2 separate regions of the Homo sapiens genome follow, and region 1 is linked to region 2. Evidence: promoter capture Hi-C in 16 types of primary human blood cells and fetal thymus (Javierre and others, 2016). All regions are on one chromosome and are shown on one strand. Each heading gives the region's core, a stretch centred on a gene start or on the middle of the fragment in contact. The rest is flanking DNA. Distances are from core to core; before and after follow the strand shown.

Region 1 (7,138 bases), core at 173-2,672, 450 kb after region 2:
AATGCAAGAACAACCTAATACAGCCATTATAAGTAATAATTCTTAAAACCATATAGAAACATTTTGTAATGATGTAAGAAAAAAAAGACACAAAATTGATTTTTAAAAAAACATGCATATGGATAATGCCTGGAAGATAAATGGGAAAAAGTGAAAATAATCAGTGTGTTGAAGTATTTGGCTTAAAGGCAAACTTTAAAAATTTTTTATGTTATTACTGTTACAAAAAGAAGGAAAGAGGATATTATACAGCAAAAGACTAAGAAAGAAAGTGGCAAACTAATGACCAAAACTAAAAGCCAGTTATTTAATTCTTCCATCAAAAATAGCCAGGTATAGCCCAGGCGCAGTGGCTCATGCCTCTAATCCCAGCACTTTGCCACGCTGAGGTGGGAGGATCTCTTGAGCTCAGGAGTTCAAGACCAGCCTGGCCAACATAGCGACCTCACCTCGTGTCTACCAAAAAAAAAAAAAAAAAAAAAAATTAGCCAGATGTGGTAACGCATGCCTATAGTCCCAGCTACTTGGGAGGCTGAGGTAGGAAGATCGCTTGAGCCCAGGAGATGGAGGCTGCAGTAAGCTATGATGGTGCCACTGTACTCTAGCCTGGGTGACACAGTGAGACCCTGTCTCAAAAAAAAAAAAAAAAAGCTAGGTATAGGCTATAGGTTAGTCGTGGTGCCTCATGCCCATAATCCCAGCACTTTGGAAGGCCAAGGCAGGAAGTCCACTTGAGCCCAGGAATTCAAAACCAGCCTGGGTAACACAGCAAGACCTTGTCTCTACCAAAAATTTAAAAATTAGCAGGGCTCAGTGGCACGCACCTGTAGTCCCAGCTACTCCACAGGCTGAGGTGAGAGGATCACTTGAGCACAGGATGTCGAGGCCGCAGTGAGTTGTGATCATACCACTGTATTCTAGCCTGGGGGACAGAGTAAAACTCTGTCTCTTGGAGAAAAAAAAAAAAAAAAGCTAGGTACAAGCTTTCAAGCTGGCCTAAACATAAGTAAGCTTCATTACTTAGTCTGAACATACAGACTTAAGGATAAAAGCCTGGTAACCCCAATATCTCTCAAAAGGCATTTTATTCTGACCAGGCCTCCCTGCTAACTCTCCCTTGTCCCAAAGGAGGTCACCCAGGGTACCCAGCTAGTTAAGGAGGACCAAACTGAGAGCCAGTCTGGACTGGCACAAGGGGAGATGCGGACATAAATGTACACGTGTTTCACATTCCAAAGCCAAATACAATAGGGTTCTAGATCATCTGGGAAATTACTCCTATTCATCAACATAGAAAGGTCACGAATATCAACAGTGAGAACAAACAGGGAAGATTACATTTAAATGTAACCATATTTGGGCCTGGTGTGATGGATTACACCTGTAATCCCAGCAGTTTTGGAGGCCGAGGCGGGCGGATTGCTTGAGCTCAGGAGTTCAAGACCAGCCAACATGGTGAAACTCCATCTTTACAAAATATACAAAAATTAGCTGGGCCTGGTAGCACACGCCTGTAATCCCAGCTACTTGAGAGGTTGAGGCACAAGAATCGCTTGAACCTGGGAGGCAGAGGTTGCAGTGAGCAAGGATCACACCACTGCACTCCTGTCTGGGCGACAGAGAGGGACTCTGTCTCAAAAAAAAGGAAGAAAGAAAAAGAAAAAGAAATGTAACCATATTTAAATATGAAGAAGAGCCCCAACACAAGCATGTATTCCTGTTTATACAATATTCAGGGCTAACAGACTTATCACACACAGGTTGTGTAACTTATTAATGACAATGTGACTTTAAACAGTAGTTCTAAGTGGGTCACCTTGAATAATACGAAACAAAGCTTGCCAAGGGAAACATGCAAATAAGATCAAAATCCAACAGGGAATAGGCATTTTCCTAGCTTTTCGGATTTTTACTGTAGAAAAATAAACACAGTATCTATCTAGTTTCTTTAGCACTAAAAAAACCAACAGCATGAAACTGCATTCTTCAATGGGGGTGGAGTCCAAAGGGACAGGCCCGACATTATTTTCAGCACACTGTACCAAGTCAAGCTGGTATGTGGATAAAGCAGCACAGCTGGGTTTACCATGTGAGTAACGGGCAGAGAGAACCTACCACCCTATGTGGCGCAAACCACATGAGGCCAGCTGCAGAGGCTGTGGAGAGAGGCCTCTCTTTATCCCTTCTTCTTTCCCTCCATCTCTTTCTGAGGCCAGGACCTGCATGCAGACCTTTCTTGATAAAGAACTCAACCTCAATGTGATACATCAAGGGAAACATTCCCTGAAGAACATGGTGGAGCAAATAAACATTTGGCCTCGTGAGAATGGCCACAGAAAACACTAGGGAATCTTAAACTGTCAGTTGGATGACTAGATATTTTATGATATTAAGGATTATGATTAATTTATTTTAGATATGATAATAAGCTGTTGGCTATACTTTTTTTTTTTTTTTTTGAGACAGGATCTCACTCAGTCACTCAGGCTGGGAATGCAGCGGCACAATCTTGGCTCACTGCAGCCTCAACCTTCCAGGCTCAAGTGAGCCTCCCACCCTCAGCCTCCTGAGTAGCTGGGACTACAGGCATGTGCCACCACACCTGGCTAATTTTTGTATTCGTGGTACAGCCAGGGTTTCACTATGTTACCCAGGCCTCCCAAAGTGTTGGGATTACAGGCATGAACCACCACACCCAGTCAGCTATACTTTTAAAAAGATTCCTTATCTTTTAGAAATGCATACTTAGGTATTCATAGATGAAATTATATGATGTCTGGGATTTACTGAAAAATAATCCAGGATAAAAGTGTGTGGGGCTATGGATGAACCAAAACTGCCATGAATTGATAATTGTAGAAGCTCAATGATGAGTATGTGGGGGTTCATTATAGTCATCTTTTTCCTTTTGTATATGTCTGAAATTTTCTGTAACAACAAAAAAAATCAGTAGGAGACAGCATAAAACCATTCATAACTTTGACCCGGCAATAGCCCCCTAAGGAAATAAATAAGGGGGAAGGGGAGAGCTGATTCTGCAAAGATGCATAATTGAGAAAAACACTGCTGCTCCCAACAAACGAGAAGATGGCTAAGCAACGAGGGTACATCAATAAGGCAAAAACGCTACGTGGCTTTTTAAAATGATAAATACTTCAGCCTAGTCGCTAAGTGGAAATCGGCATAGGAATGCTAAGAGGAAAACAGGCAGGATAAAATATTATGTGCATACTAATCACCACAAGGTAAAAATGCATGCTCACATAATGGAAAGGGTCAAAAGAGAACACAGAAGGCGACACCCTCCCTTTAACACTCAGCTCGTTGCCTCCTCTCAGTGAGGGCCCCAGACGGCCCCCGCGTGAGCATGCACACACGAGATGAATTAATTGCACTCTTCTGGGATCTCACAGTCCTCACTTGCTGAGGCTCATCCAGCCCCTATTGCTTGTCTAATGGTTCCTCATGGACCTGCCTTCCCTGATGCACCATGAATTTTACCAGCACACAGTAGGTATTCAATAATGTGTGTCAAACAGAATAGAACATAAATAGCTGCTGTCTGTGTCTCAGGATTTTTTTTTTCTTTAGAGCTATTCCCACCCACAGTAGCCATTCAGGAAAGGCATTCCTCAGTATCAGAGAACAATGCTTCCATTTCTGATTCACAAAGTGCTTCTGCTACGTGGGTTTATGAAGCCAGCAAGGCAAAACAAAATCAAGCAGACTTTCTGTCTAGATCCTTGCTGGACCACACAGAAAAATCCCATTTTGTTTTGCAAGCTTGTAACAAGTCTCATTGCTATGGTTCCTAATACCAAGTCTGAAGATTCCCCAAGCACTGCTGTGAGAACGGGCCTTTCCTTGGCTACTTAAAAATGCTGCATGGCTGCTCTCTGTGGCTGGCACTATAGTAAAGGGTACAAGCCAGAATGCAGTCGGGACTGTGGCTGCTCAGCAGCGTCAGGCGGGGAAGTCAAGAACTGCCCATCTAGACAGAAGTGGGCAGCAACACAGCCTGGGCCATGCTCCACCCAGTCTGAATGTTTCTCCATCTCTTCTGCTTAGAGCTGCTTTGAGCAGCAGGCTTTGGGTGGGTGAGAGGGGTTGATAGGGATATTCAAGAATGTCAGAGCCTGGGCGTGGTGGCTCACGCCTGTAATCCCAGCACTTTGGGAGGCAGGTGGATCACCTGAGATCGGGAGTTCCAGACCAGCCTGACCAACGTGGAGAAACCCCATCTCTACTAAAAATACAAAATTAGCCAGGCGTGGTGGAATGTGCCTGTAATCCCAGCTACTCAGGAGGCCGAGGCAGGAGAATCGCTTGAACCCGGGAAGCGGAGGTTGTGGTGAGCCGAGATCGCACCATTGTACTCCAGCCTGGGCAACAACAGCAAAAACTCCATCTCAAAAACAAAAAAAAGAATGTCAGGAAGAAATCCATAGACTGTCATTTTTCAGAGCAGTAGTTAACTTTTTGGATAAGATGTTAAAGGAAGAATACATTCCCTTTGAAAATCTGATAAGACCTTTCCAGAGAATTACACACACAATTCTGCACACACTTTCAACAGGTTATTCACCAATCCCTGGCCTCAGTCAGATACCACTTCTGCCCTAGAGCTTTAGCTGTGACTGTTGGTATGAACACTTAGACAAGTTAAACACAACATGAATTTCCACAACAGCAAGGCAGCTGCGATGAGTGAGGTACTACAGAGAGTGAGTGACAGCTCTGTTGGGAGGGCTGTCTCTGTGTCTTTATGAAGACCACTAGCAGAGATACAGAGCCCATGCCTGGGCACACACAGGAAGGCAAGAGCACCATGGTTAAGACACTCCATTCCAAAAACAAAACAAAAAAGACACTCCATTCTAGTTCTTCAGAAATGAGACTGCCAAGCCTGAAGTCCTTAAGGTTATCAGACCATGAGACAGCCTCTTTTTGTTGGACTGGAATGCTGACACTACTCATTATGCAGTCATTTTACCGAGTGTTGCCTTAAGTGCTCCAGAAAGTGGGGTATAGAGAATTACCAACATACAAACTTTAGCCCATTCTCCTAACAAAAACCAAAAAATTGGTCCAGATGGTCTTAGGAAATGACCAAATCAGAGACTCTTGTGAAAGTGGTTAAAAAAAAGGGGGGTCTGGGAATGTGTAGGACCTAACTTTGAACTTGGTAGGCACAAGGAGGACTGCAGAGACCCTCACGGTAGACAGACACCTGGCAGGCCCCTCCTGACACTTGGGGCTCCTAAGTCTGACTTATTCCACATCTTGTCCAAGAGATAAAATACCCTTCCCCAGCAGCCTCTTGCAATCAGCTCATCAATATGCCATGAAAATGTTTTGAAACAAGCTTTGGTCACATCACTGCCCTGTTCCAGCCCTTTATTAACTTTCCTTGTGATGGTACAAGAAGGGTATGTTCCATTTACTTCCAAAAGGAATTTAGGGTAATTTTAGTAATAATTTATACCCAAGACAAATAAAACAAGAAGGCTGAAAACCAAATGGAATAAAAGAAGAAATGTTTTACCAAGAACCAGAGAGATAAGACAGTTATTGCAACTAGACACTAATTAGGCCCATGCTTCCTGGTGGCCTGGGCAAGAAGGGAAAGACAATGAGTTTCCACAGTCCTTCCTTGCTGATTAAAGGCAGAATAAAAGGCATTCCTCTAGGATGGGGATTTTTTTTCCCTAACAGTAAGTTTTGAGATTTATTGCAGTCACTCATATTAAGGAATAATGAATAGCATAATATGGAATGTCTTCAACAACAGTTTCATATAAAATATAAAATGTTCTTCCTGTAACTTAGCCTGGTATTAACTGCCCTTTACCATTTGTCCCAGTTACTTTTGCAGCCTCTCTTTTCCTATTTTGCCCCATCCCATCCCCACAAAGAACTACACATTCAACCAAACCAGACTCCTCTTTCCAAGAACACATCCCCACCTTTTCGTTACTACCTATTTTTACCCATCCTATCCTCTTTAAATCCTTCCTCTTCTACAGATTTCCCCAATTCTCCAATCAAAAGAGGTCTCATTCTACCACGCAGCCCATGCCTCTGCACTGCCAAGCAAGGCAGAGCACCAACAAGGCAAAGTCATGCAGAAGTGGCAGCAAGATCTTTGGAGTCAGACCAATTGAGCTCAAATCTGATTCAGCTGCTTATATGCTGTGTGATCCTAACCAAATAACTAAATGTCTCTGAGCCTCAGTTTCCACATCTATAGAACAGAAACAGGGCCTGGCACACAGGAGTCCTCAGGAGAACTGGGGGAGCAATAGCTGGCACAATAGAGACTTGGGTATCTGTCTTCTCTCCCCCTCCCCCGTACAAAATGAGCTCCTTGAAAGGCAATACAATGAAGCATCTCCCAGAAGACCTTACACATGAGGGGACCTCAAAAATGGAGTTGCAGAGTTATCTAAAAGCCTGACTGTTTGGAATTAGATCAGAGAGTCTGACATGCAGTAGCTTCATGCCAGATCCAGGTTCAGAACGCAAAGCTCCTATAACTCCTGGGCCAAACTTTACACACGTGACACTGTTAGCCCCTTGAGGGTCTCAACACACTGACTTCCTATTTCACACAATAAAGATCCTCTTCCTTGTCAGAAAATAATTCTTATCATACAGGTCTCCAAATACCCATGCAAATCACATTAATATAACCCGAGGTGGCCACCTTACCCAAAGATCTCATCAAGGGGAGCTGGTGTGTGTTTAATTGTTATGAATGTATATCACTGACCAATGCCTTGATAAACTACAGATAAAATCTATCAGTTCTTGATGGCTAATTTGGTACAACATGAATATTGTGAGTTCTAATAACTCACAGGAGACTATTCTAGTACTTACCAGCTATATGTCTTCCACACTCATAAAACAACCATAATTACCTTTCATGGGTGAGATGTTCTAGTAATTCTTAAGTGACTTAACCCTAGAAAATCTATGGAAAAAGCTAATTTCAAAGAATTTTTGTTTTGAAAGTAGAAGACAAGACCAAGAACTTATGAACATGCTTTTTATTTCATTATTCTTATTATTTTATTTTTATTTTTTGTAGAGACAGAGTCTTGGTACTTTGCCCAGGTTGGTCTCAAACTCCTGG
Region 2 (6,506 bases), core at 4,005-6,504:
GCCTGGCCAACATGGCGAAACCCCATCTCTACTAAAAATACAAAAAAATTAGCTGGGCATTGTGTCGGGTGCTTGTAATCCCAACTATTCGGGAGGCTGAGGCAGGAGAATCGCTTGAACTCAGGAGGTGGAGGTTGCAGTGAGCCGAGACTGTGCCATTGCACTCTAGCCTGGGCAACAAGAGTGAAACTCTGCCTCAAAAAAAAAAAAAAAAAAAAAAAAAAAGCTGGGGGGAAGAGTGACAAAAACAAAAAGATGACCATGAGAAGAAGGGCATTTTTAAAAAAAAAGGATTAACAGAAGGGGTTAAGATTGAGGCTTTTGGGGAGCAGCTGGTAAACAGAAAAAGAAATTGGCTAACAAATAATTTGGATGAAAATTATGTAGTAAAGAGATTGGAAAAAATACGGCTTCAGAACAATAATGAACCATTTTTGATAAAAGCTAGTTCCTGGAATGGATTGCCTCTCATTTGTATTATATCAAAAGCTGTTTGGTAATTTAAGGGCAGCTGGTGAAGATCTGGTGAAAGATCACAAACAGAAGGACTAAAAGAAAGGACTCAAGGAGAACATTCTCTCAGTCTGAAAAAAATACAGTCGGATTTGTATGCTGAAATGCCCCCAAAACAAATGATTCTGAGAAATGAAACCACTAACAGAAATGAGTTGAGAAAATGAACGTAATGGAGTATCTCAGAGTTAGGAGAGGACGGCTGAAAAGAATAAAAAGGAGATTCAAGTGGAGCTCAGAGAGAGAAGAAAGACAATCCGCAGGGTGGACCCAAGCAAAGGGCTTTTGTCTGAGGTTTATGCAATGAATCGTGGCTTCAGTGAGCTGATTCCTGGTATACATTGCACTACATTTGGCCAGAACAATGATTGCTGCCTTTTTTTTTTTTAACTCACAAAAATCAAAGTATTGTGTAGCTTTTTCCACCTGCCTGAGGCTCCAGGTTATGAAAAGAAAAGGATGAATCATAAGTAAGAATATAGCTTTGATGAAAAAGCCCTCTATCATATGATGACATGATCAGTTTAACAAGACCCATGGTGTCTGTCTGACGGAGACATGACTATTTTTGGACTTTACGTAGCAGAATTCTTGTATCACAAGAATATTCATAGATATGTGTGATACGGGTCCACTTTGAGCATCTGAAAGTTCAGTTCTGGGTGCAGTCTGGTTTTTGTATGTGTTCTTGTAGTAGCAGTTTATTGCATAAGGAATAATTACTCCAGGGTTTTTGAAAAAAAAAAAAATTAAGTAGCAGTAGTAGCTAACACATAGATGCTTACTATGTGCCAGGCACTGTTTGAAGCTCTTGACATGCATTCCCTCTTGTAACTGTTTCAGCAGCCCCATTAGGTAGGTACTGTATGATTCCATTTTGCAGATGAGGAGACCCAGGCTCAGGGAGGTTAAATAACTTGCCCAGCGTCATAGAGCCAGAGAGGAGCAGAGCATGGAGTCTATGTGCCAAACCCCCTTGCACCCACCCCTCTATTTGGCCGTTGTTCATATTTATCCTATTTACTTCAAGTTATCTCATATACAAGAGATAAAACACCACATAGAAAGTTGCTGTGCCTGTTATATTCCCAGTCCTTGCTTCGTCCCCTGTCCCATCCATGTGAGGTGTATCCCCCAGTTCCTTTTTCAAATACATTTACATAGGTGTCATATTTATGGACAATAGAGAATGTTATTTTTCATGCTTCAACATTTGCATAAGTGGTAATATACTCTATATCCATTGTAGAACTCGCTTTTTCCTCCATTTCCACCATTATGATGTGAGTGTTGTCTATGTTGATATGAATCCATTTCTCTGCACCATCCAGTTCTGTAGTTGCTGGCCACATTTGGATGCTGAGCAGTGATATGTGACTGCTGGAATTGAGATGTACGGTGAGTGTAAAACACCCGGTTTCAAAGACAGTAGGAAAAACAGTAAAATATCCTATTAATAATTTTCATATTGATTACTTGTTGAAATTATAATATTTTGGACATATTGGGTTAAATAAAATGTATCATTAAAATTAGCTTCACCTATGTTTTCTCTCTCTTTTTTTTTTTTTTTTTTTTTGAGACAGAGTCTCGCTGTATCGCCCAGGCTGGAGTGCAGTGGTGTGATCTTGGCTCACTGCAACCTCTGCTTCCCAGCTTCAAGCAATTCTCCTGCCTCAGCCTCCCAAGTAGCTGGGACTACAGGTGTGTGCCACCACGCCCAACTAATTTTTGTATTTTTAGTAGAGATGGGGTTTCACTATGTTGGCTAGGCTAACCTCAAGTGATCCACCCGCCTTGGCATCCCAAAGTGCTGAGATTACAGACATAAGCCATGACACCCGACCTGTTTTCTTATTTTTTAATATGGCTGCTAGAAAACTGAACACCGCCTCTGCGGCTTGCATGTTTGGCTTACATTTTTATCAAAGGGCAGTGATGTGGATCATTCCTCTTAGCTGCTGTCTGTCTGGGTTTTGTTAATTGGTGAAGTAAGAAGTCCTAAATCTAATAGCAAGAAGAATTACTATTTACTGCGCACAGATATTTACTCTAAGTGCTTTACAAGTAATGGCCCATTCAGTCTTGCGAGGTGGCATGGCTGCACGAAGTGAGATTAAGCAATTGCCCAGTCACGAAGCTCCAAGGAGGCTGAGTTGAGGCTGAAGTCAGGCGGCTGCCTCCAAAGCCTGACCTTGTAACCACTAACTGGACAAGGCCCCGTGAGAAACGGCATAAATCCACCTAAGAAAGCAATGACCTTAGAGCTTCCCTTGTGGTGGGGTGAAGTTTCCTTCACCACAATACATTGTCCTTACATATCAATGGAGCATCTGTCTTTCCTGACTTTTAACAGAGCAGGTTATAAACAGACACACATTTGTTGTGGCAATTTCAGCTTTAATGAAACCAGCACAGGCAGTATTTTTCTGACATCCGCTTGCAACATTATGAAGTCAGCTTTACTCTTTGCCACTAATTATATTAACTATTTTTAGGGCAAACTGTCAATGCACCATACTGGTTCATGCTTCCTAGGTTTTCAACCTGTTTTCTTTAGCCATATCTATTTATACCTCAAGTGTTTTTTCTTTTAAGAAGCATCCTCATTTTTCTGACAATGATATAGTTGTGGCTCATAATTAAGTTATAAAACACTCTGGGAGGGCAAAGATGACGTGTGATTGCCATGGGGATATTATTGATGAATATTGGATTGGTTTTTGAATTCTGAATTCAAACCCACTTTAACATTTTGAATCATAAAGTTACAGAACTGGTAGGGATCCGAAGTCTCTTTAGTGTTGGTTAAGATCATAGACTTGGCATCAGCAACTGCGTTGACCCTTAGGCTGGGATCTTAACCATTGTAAGTCTTGGTTTTCTCATCTAGAAAATGGGGATCCTGACATCCATCTTCTAGACCTCTGTCTGTGGATTGAGACAGTGACTGTAACTCTGTTCCCTGTATCTACTTTTACTCCATGGTAGTTGTGGTAATTACTATTATTATTACTATTACTATATCATCTTTCCCCAGATGACTCCAAGGGTATACAGTCTCTTCAAGCACATCTGGCCTTTTTCTCCTCCATGCTCAACCAGAACTCTTGAACTTTCCCTTAGTTGGAGAGGTCAATGGTTAGAAGGAAGAAAACTCCGCAACCCACTCCCTCCCTTTGCTCTCTCTCTGGGGCACCGTGGGCAGCTCTTGCTGCAGAGAGCTGTGCTGAGGCCCTTTACTACAGAACCTGTACAGCGCACCCTCCAACAGCACTTCCATCTATGGTCCTACTCCCCAAGGATCTGCCTCCGCACAGCCCTCCCAATGTGCCTGAAAATATCAGCATTGATCCTTTCCCTGGCCACCTTGCTCTTAAGGCTCCTGTTCATCATGCTATGTGGATGTGGACCTCCTCGCCTCTCTGTACTGCCCATGATGGTGGATTACAGCAGAATGGGCTCACCAGTTGACAGCTTTCCCCACTCATGTCTTCTACTCACTAGCTAAGCTTGGGGTGGGTGTCCCCATTGCCCGGAAAATTACTACACAGCCCTCATATCAAACTTGTTTTGAGAAGCATAACCATAAACCCATCTTTGGCCTATGATCCTAGGGAGTCCTCATGCCAACAAGACCTTTTGGGGTCAGCCACGCATGTGAAGTTAGAATGCAGTTTAGGCTGTGCCATGAATCTGAACTAAATATGATTTTAGGGGTGAGGAAACTGGGACCTAGGGGCTTGGGGAACTGGCCCGAAGGTATGGAGAGTACCTGACCTTGTCGTTCTTCCAGGATATGATATTTACTCCTGGCACCAATCCCCTCTACCTTGTACTGAAAGCAAGGACAGCCTGCCTGCAACCACACATACAGGTGGCCATCCAGCAGGTGCATACTAAATGTGTGTTGAGTTGAATTATTAGACTCTTTCTAAGCAACCTTGCAGCATTGAAGGGACCGCAATCCCTTTGCCTCTGCGTCCTTAGGGCTAAACTCGAGGTCTCGATGTCTTGCACTGTGGGCTGGGCCGGGTTTGGTGCCTCACCCAGCAGGTAAGTGCTGTCTACGCCTCCCACAGGTCCAGTGGCTCCTCTCCAGACTTGGGTGCACTGGGCCAGGCTGCACCTTACTAATCTCAAGGCTTCCTGTGTTTGTGGCTTTGGGGCCCTCTTCATCGTGTGAATAGGAATAAGAAGATTGTTATTTCTGGCCGGGTGCAGTGGCTCACGCCTGTAATCCCAGCACTTTGGGAGGCCGAGACGGGCGGATCACCTGAGGTGGGGAGTTCGAGACCAGCCTGATCAACATGGAGAAACCCCGTCTCTACTAAAAATATAAAATTAGCCGGGCGTGGTGGTGCATGCCTGTAATCCCAGCTACTAGGGAGGCTGAGGCAGGAGAATCGCTTGAACCCGGGAGGCGGAGGTTGCGGTGAGCCGAGATCGCGCCACTGCACTCCAGCCTGGGCAACAAGAGCGAAATTCCGTCTCAAAAAAAAAAAAAAGATTGTTATTTCTGAAATAAACCCCTATTTCTCACTATTTAATAATTTAGCAATCTTGACTCACAATCCAAATCCAGGCACCCCAGACCCACCCACGGCCCGTTGCCTAGCAACAGCCTCCCCACCCCCGCCTCCGCGCCTTTTCCCGCCGACTGCCCAGTGCGCACGCTCAGAGCCTTCCTCCACACCCCGCCCCTGCAGGGCGCGCGGTGGTGACGTGTAGAGTGCGCGACGCTTTTGGCGACCCGACCTCTGGCTAACCTACCCCCGGAGCCATGGCCTCTGCTGGGGTGGCAGCCGGGCGACAGGCGGAGGATGTATTGCCGCCAACGTCCGACCAGCCGCTGCCTGACACCAAGCCGCTGCCGCCTCCTCAGCCGCCGCCGGTCCCTGCGCCTCAACCGCAGCAGTCGCCGGCGCCACGGCCTCAGTCACCTGCCCGCGCGAGGGAGGAAGAGAACTACTCCTTTTTACCTTTGGTTCACAACATCATCAAATGGTAAGAACCTAGGAGAGGACCAGGCCCCATACTCCCTCCAGCTTCTCCTCTCAGCCGTTTCAGAGCTGCAAGAGGCCTTGGCGCTCTGGGGCACGCCCCCGTTTCACAGATGGGGAAACTCAGACCCAGAGCGGGAAGAGGCCTTTCCCAAGACCACAGAGACATTCCATGAGTTAAGCAAACGATTTGAGCCTCGAGAGGTGCGATATCCTTAAGAATGAAGCCAGCTTAGAGACTAAATGCAGACTCTTGTCCAGCGGCTCAAATGTTCATCCCAGCGATCTTGAGCAAATTAAATCTCTTTAAGCCTCAGTTTTCTCACCTTTAATGTTGGTAATACTCACTTTAGTTCCTTAGTTCAGCAAACTCAACAGATAAGCATCATCTTCCCTGTGCCAAGTGCTACGGGATGGACGCAGTAAAAGGGGCCAACTTTTCACCCCCAAAGGTTTAGATAGAAGGAAAAAAAGACATGATTGGGAATAACCCACAATTCAAAAAGATTGAGACGGGAGTGGTGGCGATGGGAAACATTAGACTAAGCAGAAACACAGAAGTTGCCTCAGATGATTAGACCCACTTGTACTGACTTTGTTCTAACAGTACCAAAGGAAATAATTGTTGTCATCCTTTTGGCCAGCCTTCAGGGTAGCCTGAGTTTTCAAAGTGACTCTGTAGAGGAAAAACCAAAAACAAAAACACAAAAGTCTCACTGATCCTTATGTTTGCCTAAATTATTATTTTTTTTGAGAGAGGGTCTCGCTCTGTCACCCAGACTGGAGTACAGTGGCGTGATCTCGGCTCACTGCAGCCTCAACCTCCTGGCCTCAAGCCATCCTCCCACCTCATCCTCCCAAGTAACCGGAACCACAGGCATGAGCCATGGCACCCAGCGAATTTTTGTATTTTTTGTAGAGATGGAGTTTCACCATGTTGCCCAGGCTGTAAATTATTTTCATTATGTTACTTCACTGTATATCCACGTG

The links. The method cuts DNA at HindIII sites, captures the fragments that hold promoters and counts their contacts. A CHiCAGO score of 5 or more calls a contact.
Region 1: a fragment that was not itself captured here is called in contact with the fragment with the promoter of MED9 in region 2 in 1 of 17 cell types (naive B cells); the score reaches 6.0 in naive B cells.

What each region holds. Positions count from the first base shown.
Region 1 is chr17:17,925,222-17,932,359 of GRCh38, forward strand. All of the region lies in intron 1 of TOM1L2 (target of myb1 like 2 membrane trafficking protein), which reads right to left. Among named protein-coding and RNA genes, the nearest start is that of TOM1L2, 44 kb to the right of the region's middle. The HindIII fragment of the contact is 826 bases long and covers 1,010-1,835 here.
Region 2 is chr17:17,471,746-17,478,251 of GRCh38, forward strand. It overlaps MED9 (mediator complex subunit 9), which reads left to right and starts at 5,255. Exons shown (of 2, transcript NM_018019.3): 1 at 5,255-5,520. The coding sequence starts at 5,297. RefSeq lists an enhancer at 5,259-5,358. The HindIII fragment of the contact is 9,122 bases long and covers 4,024-6,506 here.